2 separate regions of the Homo sapiens genome follow, and region 1 is linked to region 2. The links are contacts of gene promoters, found by promoter capture Hi-C in blood cells and fetal thymus (Javierre and others, 2016). All regions are on one chromosome and are shown on one strand. The core of a region is centred on a gene start or on the middle of the fragment in contact, and the rest is flanking DNA. Distances in the headings are between cores, read along the strand shown. Region 1 overlaps MRTFA (myocardin related transcription factor A). Region 2 holds the start of MRTFA (myocardin related transcription factor A).

Region 1 (6,537 bases), core at 2,270-4,769, 200 kb before region 2:
TACAAAAATTAGCCAGATGTGGTGGCTGGCGCCTGTAATCCCAGCTACTTGGGAGGCTGAAGCAGGAGAATCACTTGAACTCGTGAGGTGGAGGCTGCAGTGAGCCAAGACTGCGCCACTGCACTCCAGCCTGGGCAACAAGAGCGAAACTCCGTCTCAAAAAACAAACAAAAAAAACCAAAAACCAAAAAAAAACCCCAAAAACCTGTAACACTGCATGATCTCATGGGCATTTTCCATTCATTTTGAATGGCTGCCAAATGGAATATGAATTTTGACACATGGTAGCAAAGCTCTAGTTCCTCAAAGTCCAATGTCCTAATTTCTGCATTTATGAGACTCTGGGCAAACTAAACCAGTCCCTCAACAGTCACAGAGCCATCCCACCAAACGGGGCTAATTATAATATATATATATTCCCCTGGACCTGACTCTATAGAGTCTGTGCTCTTAACCTCTGCACCAACATTTTCAAACCACAGAACATTAGTGGATCAAGACCAGCATAGGATAAGACAAGCCAAAGGACACTAGGCAATGAAGCCTCAGAGGACATTATATATAGTAAAGGTAAAGACTGGAAAAAAATGAAGAAAAAGAAAAAAAAAAAAAGACTTGTCCTCACCTAGCCATCTGCTGCCTTGTTGTTCTGGCTGGGCAGCTCTGTGCCAGCCCAGGGGAGGCTGAGCAATCCAGGAGATGGTTTAAAGTGACTGTGGGCTCTGGCTCTATCACCCCACGTGCAGTGGGCAGAAGTACTGCCTCAGCTGCAGCAGAGATTGGTAGAGCAGGTGCCGCAAGTCTTCACAGATGACAGTGGAAGACTTATTCTCTAAGCCATCTGAAGCTCTGACCAGTGGCCATGACTGAGGTAGAATATAGTACTGATTAAGAAAATATATGGAGGAGCTTCTGGTTTGTTAAAGGCATGGAGGTGCTAGGAGGGTGACACACCCACCTGGAGAGAGCACAAAAGCTCCTCATCCCTTCCCACATACCTACACATCTCTTCCACCTGGCTGTTCCTGAGTTGTATCCTTTGTGACAAATAGTAAACATATTAATGATGTCAAATGGCTGAAACCTGACTACCTAGAGGCTACTCTGGACTGGTTTAGAGGGTATAAGGTCTCTGATGGAAAACCAGAGAACTTTCAGGGCCAAATTTAAAGATACGGATTTTGCAACTGATATCATTAAAGGCATTCATGACCACTGAAGCACATTTGTGTCGAAGAAAACTGAGGGAACAAAATCAGTTTGACAAGGTACAGTGGTAGATGCCTACACATCCCAGCTATTCAGGAGGTCAAAGGCAGAAGGATTGCTTAAGCCCAAGAGTTGGGATTCAGCCTGGGCAACATAGCAAAATCCCACCTCTAAAATTACAAAAAAAGGAAAACAAAGCAATCAGTTGTGTAAATACAACAGCATCTCAGAGCCCCTCAAGTGTGATCCTGACATAGCTGAAGCCATTGTGGATGCTTTCCCACCACCATGTATAGCTGCCTTATGTAGCACGCACAGATGTGAGCAGCTGGTTCCAACACCAGAAAAAGAAATGAAACTTCTCTTGAATACGAGCTGATATTGCTGTGTCTTATTCATCTGGAAGTATGAGATGCAAAAGTAGCAGCTTTTCAAAGCTTTAAGCTTTTAGAATTAAGTAAAGCAAATTCTGCTATAACCAATCCAATATATTCATGTTTCATATCTCAACTAAGATAATTTTTAGTACATGTGTAAATATGGAAGTAGTTATTGTAATGTGGAAGTCATTTGTGAATAGATGTGCATGGTAAGCAAATTGAACGTTATGGTTACCATGTGTTAGGAAATAAAATCATTTTGCTCAAAAAAAATCTAGAATCCACAAAGGTTTGACTCCCAGCTTTGCCACTTATTGGCTGGACAAGTGAGTTAACTTCTCTTAGCTGCATCTATAAAATGAGGATAATACCACCTAATTCATAAGAGTTGATGTGAGGATAAAAAAGAAACAGATACAACCTCTTACATAAAGGTGCTCAATAAAACAGTCTCTTCTAATCAGCTCTGCTGGTCCCTGCCTATTTGAGAAGCAGTCAAGTAAATGGTGCCCAGTCTTCTGACCGAATAGGCGCACAGGCAACGCCATCCTTTCCCCCAACACTGTACTCTCCAGTGCTCTCAGCAAACTAAACCACTGCTGCTTGTTACTCCTTTGGTTCCCAGGACCCATGACCTCATTCTTTCCACTTACTCTAAGAATTAATCATGATTTTCTGGGGAGAGGGGAATGAAAGAAAGTTTAAAAAAAAAAAAAAAAAGTCTTGGAGGTAAATATTTCTGAGACTCTAAAATAGCTGTGAGGCTGGGTGTGGTGGCTCATGCCTGTAATCCCAGGACTTTGGAAGGGCAAGGCAGGCAGATCACTTGAGGCCAAGAGTTTGAGACCAGGCTGGCCAACATGGTGAAACCCCATCTCTACTAAAAATACAAAAATTACCCAGGCGTGGTGGCGGGAGCCTGTAGGTCCAGTTACTTGGGAGGCTGAGGCAGGAGAATCGCTTGAATCTGGTAGGCGGAGGCTGCGGTGAACTGAGATCACGCCACTGCACTCCAGCCTGGGTGACAGAGTGAGACTCCGTCTCAAAAAATAAAGTAAAATAAAATAGCCGTGGGTCTTAAGGAGATGCAGCCCATGATCTGTCTAGGGGGATTATCTTCCCATGATTTTATGTGAAAGGAAAAAGTAAAGGGAGTGTGAGGGGGAAGCAAGTTCTGGTGACTTCCCCATCTCTACCCACACTGGGCAGCAGAATATTCCTCAGGGGCCCCTGGGGAACCGAAACAGAGTTGGGATGGGGACGCAAGTAAGGTGCTGTGGCAGAAAACTTGGGCTTGGAGTGTGGGCCAGTTTCTGCTTTCCACAAGAGTCAAGTGGATACCACCTACTCTGGGCAGATGGAGACCAAGAAGGTTTCCTGCCCCTTGGAATGCCCGTCCTGTGAGGTGTGGCCAGTGTAACCCCGGACTTGGGAAGCTTTTCCATTGGCTAATGTTTGTGTCCCAACATCTACAAAACGTTAAGTGGAATTAAAGATGGGGAAATACCAGTGGTCTCCAAAGCACTCCAAAATTCAGGCAAGGAGGATCGGGTGATCATTCCATATCCTTAAATGTACAAAAAGAGAAACCTCATTCCAATCATGTTCCATATAATCACCATGGGAGGTAAATGAGAGAAGGGATGAAGTAGGAGAAGCAGAGCTTTCCATTTAAAACCACAAGGCCAGGGCTGGCCCTAGAGTCTAGCAGGCTCTGGCCTCAGAGTTCTATGGAAAGCTCTAAATGGAAATATAACCAGCAATGCAATGAGCTCTGAAAATGCTCTTTGGGAGTTCTGAGGGGGAAAAAAGGTACCTTACCCTGGCCCGCTCCAAGCTCCTTCTCTGCTCATGAAATGCGGCTGGACTTTTCAAAGCTGTTGAGAGAAGAACCGTAAAGATTACCTTCAAGCGAAGCATCATGTCTAGTGCTACGATATTCAGTGGAGAAGGCATCTTAAATTCATGTTACTGGCTGGGCGTGGTGGCTCACGCCTGTAATCCCAACACTTTGGGAGGCTGAGGCAGGCAGATCACGAGGTCAGGAGATCGAGACCATCCTGGCTAACATGGTGAAACCCTGTCTCTACTAAAAATACAAAAAATTAGCCAGGCGTGGTGGTGGTGGGCGCCTGAAGTCCCAGCTACAAGGGAGGCTGAGGCAGGAGAATGGCGTGAACCTGGGAGGCAGAGCTTGCAGTAAGCCGAGATTGCGCCACTGCACTCTAGCCTGGGCAACAGAGCGAGAAACCGTCCCCCAAAAAAAAAAAAAAAAAATCACATTACTGTTAGTAGTACTATAAATATCAGTTGAAGTGAAGGCAATGACACCTGAGTAAGCATGTATCTTTATGGTTTAGCTACCCCATTCAAACAGTTTTGGTAGAAACCAAAATATGACTCCTAATGGGAACTGTCACTGCCTAAGCTTGGGCTATATAAAGTGCACCCATGGAATGTAACTTTAACAAACACCCTGGCCCATGACTGGACCGTCAGCCGCAAATCCCCCTTCAGCTAGGACTCCAAGAACGCCTGCTAGGCCTCACATTATTCTCAGGACACCTGCACACAGGAAGGGGCACAGATGCATGCCAAATTAACCTTACTTCCTCAACCTCACGAGGAATCATAAAGTGGCCAAACTGTTTCAATGGGACAGTTAAAACCAAAAAGATATATGTCCACTCGGCACTATTTCCTTCTTCACTGCACCTGTTATTTATAGTGCTGCTAAAATTAACTTGAATTTCATCTCTAAGGACTAAAAGAACCCCATGGCAATTGTATGTGAAGGAACACACACAACCGACAGCTGAGACGAAGGGCTCAGCTCTATTCTGGGGATACCACACAAAGACCACAAGTCTCGACTTCTGCAAACAACACTCAGGTGGCAAGACCAAACCAAGAGCCTCCAGAAAGGCTGCACCATGAATGGAAGGTCTGACTCCTTTTGTCAAAAACTTGGCTGTAAGGACAAATAGCAACTTAAGACACTCTGAGGATGAGAGGGAAAGGCCTGACTCACTTCAAGTAGGGAACAGAGGCAATAAGAGAGAAATTTATAAGACTGTGGTCAGTTTCACTTCTCCTGCCCTAGAATTTCCAAAGAGCTGTGAAACTGCGAGCAGAGATAACTTTTGCTAGGCTGCTGGCTGCGGTAGGAGTGCAGGGTTAAGGAGCTGCTAAAAGTAGCAAGAGAGCATAGATAGGACCCTATCCTGCCTGGGCCGTTGTGCTTCTTCCTCCTTCCTCTCCACCCCCAGCGGGGGGCTGGGCCTCAGCAACAGCAGTCCCAGAAGAAAGCTTCAATTGTCCCAGTGGTATTTATTTTTAAAAATTTTTTGTGAATCTTAAGATAAAAAAGAAACTACAGTCTTAAAAGTACTACTGAGATCCCATCTTCTAACAGAAGGGGGAGCTCTAGATTTAACAAATAACATCAAAGAAAAACCAGTACAAGTTACCTCCCCAACCTACCTGGGCACTATCCAGGATTCCCCACTTCTTACATGGGCAGGTCGTGGGCATTTCAGTGGGTAAATAGACACCCCCTGCACCTGCTTCTACTGTGTAACGCTAGCTCAACTCCAAACGTCCTGCTCTGCAGGAACCCGGGTGTGATGCATCACACGTAACCTTGGCTCTTGGAAAGCTTAGCACATGCATGAGACAGTAAGTACAAAGAATCAAGAGAAAACGGACACTGTCCACCCCACCCCAGCTTCCTTTTCTGCCTCATTTTTCTCCGCAGCACTCATCACTGTCTTGACAGTCTTTATATAAATACTACGTATCTGGCTGGGCATGGTGGCTCACGCCTGCAATCCCAGCACTTTGGGAAGCCGAGGTGGGCAGATCATGAGGTAAGGAGTTCGAGACGAGCCTGGCCAACATGGTGAAACCCCGTCTCTACTAAAAATACAAACATTTTTGTACAGGCATGGTAGAGGGTGCCTGTAATCCCAGCTACTCAGGAGACTGAGGCAGGAGAATCACTTGAACTCAGGAGGCAGAGGTTGCAGTGCGCCAAGATAGTGCCACTGCACTCCAGCCTGGGAGACAGAGCAAGACTCCGTCTCAAAAAAAAAAAAAAAAGGCGGAATACTACATACTTTTCTTGTTTACTCTCAGTCTCCCACGTTTACATTTACAACATGTCCCCATCAGAGCACAGCAAGGGTTTTGTCTATTTTTTTAGTCACTCACAGCATTCCCCAAGTGCCTAGAATACCAGGCACACAGTATACCCTCAATAATTATTCACTCGATGAATTAGTGAGTATTCTGTAAGAAACGGACACAAGGTGACTAGTGACAGGAGGACAGGAGGATTCTGCGGCAGAGCTCTAAACTTTCATCTAAACAGCCAGAATTCTGGTTCTCAACCGGGTTCGAAACCTCACAGAAGTTCTGGATAGACAGTCAAGGGATCTGTGTTCTAGTACTGAGTGCTACCAATTACTGCTGGGTGACATGGGTTTTGACTGCTTTCTGGGTCTAATTTTCTTCCAGAGTGAGAATCTGCCCACCTCTCAGAACCCTTGTAAGGAAGAAACACCAGTGAGAGTGCCCTGAACCAAATGGTATATGTGTCGATATATTCAGGTGTTGCTGTCACCAAATGCTGTAATTTGGTTGAATCACTGGCTTGATTCACTTACAGGCCAGCTAGTTTCTGTACCACAGCCAGAGATTCTCTGTCTAAAACCCTGGCTGACTTGCTGCCTCAACAACCCACACTGGCTATCCCCAAAGGGTAAGGCACAAACCCAAAGGCACAAACCCAACTTCTAGAAGAACAATTCACCAGAACATCTTGAGGACATCATCTTCATGTACAAAGGGTGGTGCACCACTAGTGGAGGACAGGTGATAGGTGAAATGGCTACAGCATACATAGTCCCCCTCATCTGCAGTTTCGCTTTCCATGGTTTCAGTTATT
Region 2 (7,307 bases), core at 3,525-6,024:
GATGGCCCCCAATGACCCTCACCTCCTGCCATTTACATTCTTGTGTAGTCCCTTCCCACAATGTGTGGCCAACAGAATACTGGAAAAATGATGGTATGTGACTTCTGAAGCTAGGTCATAAAAGTCAATGCAGCAGCTTGGTCTTTTGTATTACATGCTCTGAGGCAAGCTGGCTGCCATGCCATGAAGGCATTCATGCGGAGAGGCCCACATGAAGAGGAATTGAGATCTCCCACCAACAGCCTGCACCAACCTGCCAGCAATATGAGTAGCCACCTTGAAAAAGGATTCACCAGCCTCAGTCAAGCCTTCAGATGACTGCTACCTCAGCTGACATATTACTGCAATTTTTTTTTTTTGAGACAGTTTTGCTCTGTCACCCAGGCTGGAGTGCAGTGGCACGATCTCAGCTCACTGCAACCTCCACCTCCCTGGTTCAAGCAATTCTTATGCCTCAGCCTCCTGAGTAGCTGGGATTACAGGCATGGGCTGCCACTCCCAGATAATTTTTTTTTTTTAGATACTCTGCCGCCCAGGCTGGAGTGCAGTGGTGCAATCTTGGCTCACTGCAACCTCCGCCTCCCAGGTTCAAGTGATTCTCATGCCTTAGCCTCCTGAGTAGCTGGGACTACAGGCGTGCATCACCAAACCTACCTAATTTTTGTATTTTTAGTAGCGACGGGGTTTCCCCATGTTGGCCAGGCTGGTCTCGATCTCCTGACCTCAAGGGATCCACCTGCCTCAGCCTCCCAAAATGCTGAGAATACATGTGTGAGCCACCGTGCCCAGCCATTATTGCAATTTTTTGAGAGACCTGAGTTTGAATCACTCAGCCAAGCTGATTCCAAATTCCTGACTCACAGAAACTGTGAAAAATAAGAAATGTTGTCTTAAACACTAACTTTCGAGGTAATCTGTTACACAGGAAGACAGTTAACACACCCGCTCTCCAAAACTCTAATTTCCTTGAGAGCGGAGACTATTTCCTTGATTCTCAAAACTCTATTAAAGCCTTAGACATAAACAGCGCCCATATTTGCTGAATTGTGTCAGTGGGTCATTCTCTTTGTTCAATGTCCCCCTTCTTCCAAAATGTATTCATTTATAAAAAACTACTCCCCAAGCCTATACCACTTCATCCATAACCCATCAATGTTTTCTCTTTTCTCTTTCAAAAACCTGAAATATAACCTCCTGACCAAAGCTTTTTCTCAGTAAAGAAATGTTTCTTATGTTTGTCAATTGCAACTATCAACCCTAGCATTTATGTGAATATATATACACACACAAGAACACGGAGTAAATATATATTTGTTCATGTTCATCTTATATTCAAGAAATATTTACTGAGCACCTGCTATGTCCCAAGAACTGCCTTTGAAGCTGGGAAGAAAAACAAATATCCTCACCCCTGGGGAGCTTACAGTAGTATATGAGCTTGCCACAGTGTTTTCTCGAAATATAATACAACGATCTTTGTTAATACAACTTAAAAATTCTAAATTTCCCTTTGTAAATTAAATGGCTGTAAATCTACAAATCGTTTTTTAAATACACTTAAATAAGTATTTAAGCTGCACTCTCAAAGAAAGTTTATACCTGTTTAACAAAGTTAGTAAAGTGCTTCATATGGAATCTGTATATATCAATGTACTCCATTTTTACTGAATGTTCCCACAGGCCATACTTTTTAGGAAATATCACCAAATTTATAAGTATAAAATATATAAATAAAGATAGCCTTTATTTATTATATTGCCATATATAAAGCTTATAAAGATAAGCTTTATTTATTATATCGCCTTAGTGACTAAATCAAATATGAAACATTTCACAGAAAGTAACTTGCAATAGATGTAGTAAAATGATAATAATGATAATATGGGTAGAACTTTCTAACCTCTTTCATATTTACCTCTACAAAAGCATGTTAAAAGGAACCGTATACCATACTTTTAAGTCAGAGATTCAAGTCCTGGTTCTGTTAACTTCTGTATCCCTAAATGAGTTATTTAACTAGTTGCAGCCTATTTCCCTATCCTAAAGCAACACAATCAAAGCCTAGCTTTTATGTAGTGGGCATCAAGGAATGTTAGTTTCCTTCTCCCTTCCTGGGGCTTATAACTGGTATATCAGAAGATTTATCAGGATTTTTTTTTTTTTTTGAGACAGGGTCTCACCGCACATTCAGGATGGAGGGCAGTGTGAACATAGCTTACTGCCACCTCAAACTCCTGGGCTCAAGGGATCCTCCAGCCTCAGCCTCCTGAGTAGCTGGGACTACAGGTGCAAGCCACCACGTCTGCTAATTCTTTAACTTTTTTGTGGAGACAAGCTATCATTATGTTGCCCAAGCGGGTCTCAACTCGAACTCCTGGCCTCAAGTGATCCTCCTGCCTTGGCCTCCCGAAGTGCTAGGATTACAGGCGTAAGCCACTGTGCCCCGCCTATCAGGAAAACTTTCCAAGCTGTTATTTCTCTTTGGAATTTCCTCTCCTTCATCTGAGTTAACATTCAGCTCAAATGCCATTTTCTTTGAAGCCTTCCCATACATCCACAGGAAAAGCTCCCTTGACTCTCCCAGTGAAGTCTGGATTTAGAGTGTATTTCAGCGCGTTACAATCATCTGTCATTTTTTGCCTCTCCCACTAGACTGTGAGCTCCTCATGAGCAGGGACCATATCTCACTTATCTTGACAGCCCCAGCCCTTAGAAAAACACCTGGCACGTTACAAACATGGAACAAAAAGTCTGTTGAATGAATAAATGAAGTCATCCCTTAAGTAGTACTTGTAATTACTAACGGGTGACCCAAACTTTATGGTTTTGCCCTTTATAGGCTGAGATTCTATTTCATACTCTTTTTAATCACTCCCTAATAGCATCTGGCAGAGTACTAAGGACATGGAAACTCTCCAATAAATACTTTTGGGTGATGGGATACATATTACTCTTCCACCTCTCTTGATTTGACTCTAAATAACTTATTCAAGTGGATGTGACTTTTGGAAGCCTTCTTAAAAACGGGCTCTTCTTAATAGTTATTGGCCAAAAACTGAAACAAACACTAGAGCTAAACTACAGATATTTTTTTCTTTGCAGGTGTTTTTAAAGAACGCAGTAATGGATTGCTTCTTTCTAAATCATTTCAATAAGAAACAGTAACATAAAGCCCTTTGGTTCGCTATGAAAAATGCAAACGACATTAAGCAAAACTTAGTTTAATAACTTCCAGCCAAAGGTTCCCCACCCTGCAGTCATAGGGCTGTGGGCCAGCTGGCTGTACCACCTCACCCCCGGGAGATGACTGCTTTTCAACAGTAAAACTGCGTAAGTGACATTTGGAGTTTTGGGGGTCTTCTGAAGTAAAACATGTAGGTCTAACTTCTTACTGACAATAAGTCTTAACGTTACAGGCTTCGGCTTGATGTAGAAAGGACCCTGAAAAGATCTCAAAAACTTGCAACTCGGGGACATTCCAGACGTCTTATGAGTTTAAAACTATGTAAAAACATACGAAGCATGGGGTAATTCCATTATTATATTTAAGTGATGTATTCCACATTCCTGTATATACACACACTTCATGCCAAACAGAGGCTGGCAAGCAAGTTAACCATTCAACTGCCCTTTCGTTATGCTGCATAACAGGGAGACAACAGAGAGAAATCTTGACAATGCCAAGCTGGGCTAGTGCTTAAAGGCACACAGGCAAACCAGGCATTCTCAACATCCCAAAAGCAAACATTTCTTGGGCCCTTACTATGGGCCAAGCACTGTGTCAAACGCTTCACGTGAATTATTTCATTCGACACTTACAACAAACAACCGTATGCGATTGGTGCTATTATCCTCATTTTTCAGACGAGGAAACCAAGGCACAAGATTACACAGCTAGCAAGTGGCAGGTTTGGGAGTCGACTCAAAAGGTCCAGCCCTAGGCACTATGGAGTATCAAAGGTACCCGAAGCGGGGAGGGTGGACTGCATCAGCGTCCTGACAGACGCTTTCTTAGGAGGTAAAGTTCTTGGCCATCAAGTTTCAGATTTGCAGAGCCCTGTACACCTGGCAGCATTCAGGTTTGCTATACTGGCACCAACAAGTCCAGCTGAGCCTCCTTGCCTGGGAATCCCAAGGACTGCACTTGGATCCTGAAGGTCTGCACAAGACCCCAGAGAAAGCGGCCGACACCCCGTCCCTGCAATCAAAACACATCCCGGGAGAAGCGAGGGCGAGGACCTCCGTGCCTCCCCGCCCCGCGCAGCACAGCCCTGCCAGGCAGTGCACAGGTGCACGACCGCGCCCGCCCGCCCGGCCCGGCCCGGGTCCCAGCCCCGGCACAGTGACCGCCGCTCTGCGACTCCGGCCCCGAGGGCAGGGGCAGAAGGCCGGCAAGAAGAGGGCAGGGGACGCGAGGGCCGCCTCGCCCGACCCCCCGAGGACGCGCGCAGCAGGGTCGGGGGGGAAAAAGGATGCTCCAGGCGGGGCGAGGCCGCGGTGGGGGAGGGGTCCCCAACCCGGACTCTCACTCACCGCCTCGCGCGGCTCCCGGCCGGGTTCCGCGGCTCGCCCCACTCCGGCTCTAGCCGCCCGCGTCTCCTCTCGAGGCTCACTGTCCAGCCCGGGCGCACGGAGCTGAGAAGTCGCCGCCAGCGGAGGGCGTGTGGCCAGCGGCAACCAAGAGGGTGGGAAAGATGGGACCGTCGCTCTCGCCGCCGCGGCCACCACAGACACTGCCGCCGCCGGCTCCTCTCAGCCACGGAAGCTGCGGGCCCGCCCACCACGCCCGCCTCCCGTCCTGAAGACTGTCCGCTGGAGAAGTGACGGCGGCGCTAGCCAATCAGAGGCCTGATCGGGGTCGTGATCGGCGGACTAAAGGGCGGGCGGAGAAGGAAGCGGCATGAAGAAGGCGAAAACGGCGGCCTGACTTCCTGTGACTGACGGCACGGCGCAGCCAATGGGCAACGGGGAGATGACCTCATCTCTGAGGAAAGTCTGGAACTGGCTGAGCTGCGGCGAGGGGGTTGGCGACGAGCCGGGGGCGGAGCTCTGGGCCTTAAAGAGGCCGCAGCCCTGTGGTCACCCTGTGAAGGGAAGGGCGGTGGACCCTGCCGGATCTTGCGAAGTTGCCAAGGGGTCAATGCCCAGGCGCGAGTAATTACTGCATTAATCCCAGACCCCATCCCGATTCTTGTCGGGGACTGAAGGGTCTCCGCCTGGGGCTCCGAAGTCGATCATTTCACATTCACGCTTCCCAAAACGAGACACAATAAATTCCGCTCTGGCCTGGAGCCTTGAATTCCCGTTACGGTCCCGCCCCGCCGAGGCCCGTCGCCTTGTTTCTCTGAGTCAGTTTCCCCAACGGTGAAAGGGAGGACGCTGACACCTGCCTGCCCCTCCCTATCTGCCGAGGCCGTGGAGATCAGCAGCAGCGAAAGCGCTCTGGGCTTAGAAGAGGAAAAGGGCTGCGTGAGCCCAAGAGCTTGCATCGGAAGGCTCCAGGAAGAGCATCTGCAAAAAAGAGGATTCCACGGGATGACCCCCGACAACTCTTGGAATTCTAAAATCCTATACCCTTGCCCGCACCCATTCGTGTAGTGAAGGGGCGCGCGTTAGGCGCAGAGGCCACACGCTCCGCAAGTGAACCCGGGCACCTCTCTGAACCTATTCCGGGCTGAGGGCGGGGAGCGGGTGGCTGCCCGATTTAAAAACATGTATATGTATGTGTATGTGTATGTGTATGTGTATGTGTATGTGTATGTGTATATGTATATGTATATGTATATGTATATGTATATGTATATGTATTATGAGTGAAGTCCATGACTGCAACAGGGAGAAAGGAGAAAGGCGAAAGGGGAGAGAGCAACAAGGTAAGCCAGGCCCACTGTGATGACAGCTGCGGTCATGCAGGCCCTTCGTATCCGCCTTCCTCCCCAGCAATGGGAGAGAGCCCAGAAAAGGAGAAATAACCCCAACTCGATGGGGTGGAAAAGGGGGAAGCGCTTTCCGGAAGGCTTCCGGGATGGGGTCACCAGAGTCAGAGGAAGGAGTAACAGTAGATAGAAGAAGAAGTGGTCAGGGGCGTTCTTCTAGGTTTGGGGCGGACCCGCGTGAAGATGCAAAGACTGAAAAGGGGCGGCTCACTTTACATTCCAAGGTAAATTCTCACTATGACCCCCTTTTCCCCATCAAAGGCTTCTGGGACTGCCCATGGGTGAACTCAGAGGGAGGGTAGGAGAGGGTGCTGCTCTATCCAATGGCGGCAAAAGTCAAAGTGGCCTTGGGTATTCCCAATTACTCACTATAAATCAGCTTCCAATGCCGGTCGCAGAATCTTGGAGTTAGACGGGATCCTCGTGGGCTCTTAGTCACACACACCTTCCCCAAGGCAAAAATTCTTGCACAAAATACCTGATAAAATTATTTATTCGATAAATATTTTTTGAGTAAGAACACTGAGGGGGTAAGCTAGATGAGATACAGTCACTACCCTGGGGGTGCTTACACCAAACTGGAGGATGCTAAGGCACGTACTGCGGTGACTGCAATGCCAGGCCGGTATCCCAGGTGACTAAAACAGGATGCAGGCCGGGTGCGGTGGCTCACGCCTATAATCCCAGCACTTTGGGAGGTCGAGGCGGGCGGATCACGAGGTCAGGAGACCAAGACCATCTTGGCCAACACGGTGAAACCCCGTCTCTACTAAAAAACAGAAAAAATTAGCTGGGCGTGGTGGCGGGCGCCTGTAGTCCCAGCTACTCGGGAGGCTGAGGCAGGAGAATGGCGGAACCTGGGAGGCAGAGCTTGCAGTGAGCTGAGATCGCGCCACTGCACTCCAGCCTGGGCGACAGAGTGAGACTCCATCTCAAAACAAAAAACAAAAACAGGATGCAGTCCGGGCGCGGTGACTCACGCCTGTAATCCCAGCGCTTTGGGAGGCCGAGGCGGGCGGATCACGAGGTCAGGAGATCAAGACCATCCTGGCTAACACGGTGAAACCCCGTCTCTACTAAAAACAGAAAAAATTAGCTGGGCGTGGTGGCGGGCGCCTGTCAAGTCCCAGCTACTCGGGAGGCTGAGGCAGGAGAATGGCATGAACCCGGGAGGCGGAGCTTGCAGTGAGCCGAGATGGCGCCACTGCACACCAGCCTGGGCGACAGAGCGAGACTCCGTATTTAAAAAAAAAAAAAAAAAAGAGGATGCAGAAGTGCGCCTCGGAGGAGAAAGTACCCCCACTGGAATTATTGGGGTGGGGCAGATTTCCCCAAAACATGACCAAGGTGGGGCATTCCAGATAGTACCCA

The links. The method cuts DNA at HindIII sites, captures the fragments that hold promoters and counts their contacts. A CHiCAGO score of 5 or more calls a contact.
Region 1: a contact is called between a fragment that was not itself captured here and the fragment with the promoter of MRTFA in region 2, in 13 of 17 cell types (endothelial precursors, total CD8 T cells, total CD4 T cells and 10 more). The highest score is 8.6, in endothelial precursors.

Annotation. Positions count from the first base shown.
Region 1 is chr22:40,432,089-40,438,625 of GRCh38, forward strand. MRTFA (myocardin related transcription factor A) reads right to left here. Exons shown (of 15, transcript NM_020831.6): 5 at 3,411-3,466. Among named protein-coding and RNA genes, the nearest start is that of SGSM3, 65 kb to the left of the region's middle. RefSeq lists enhancers at 4,203-4,262, 4,523-4,652, 4,773-4,822, 4,893-4,942. The HindIII fragment of the contact is 992 bases long and covers 3,024-4,015 here.
Region 2 is chr22:40,631,945-40,639,251 of GRCh38, forward strand. MRTFA (myocardin related transcription factor A) reads right to left here and starts at 4,775. Exons shown (of 15, transcript NM_020831.6): 1 at 4,534-4,775. RefSeq lists a silencer at 4,230-4,539 and enhancers at 4,800-5,109, 5,849-7,048. The HindIII fragment of the contact is 6,464 bases long and covers 1,783-7,307 here.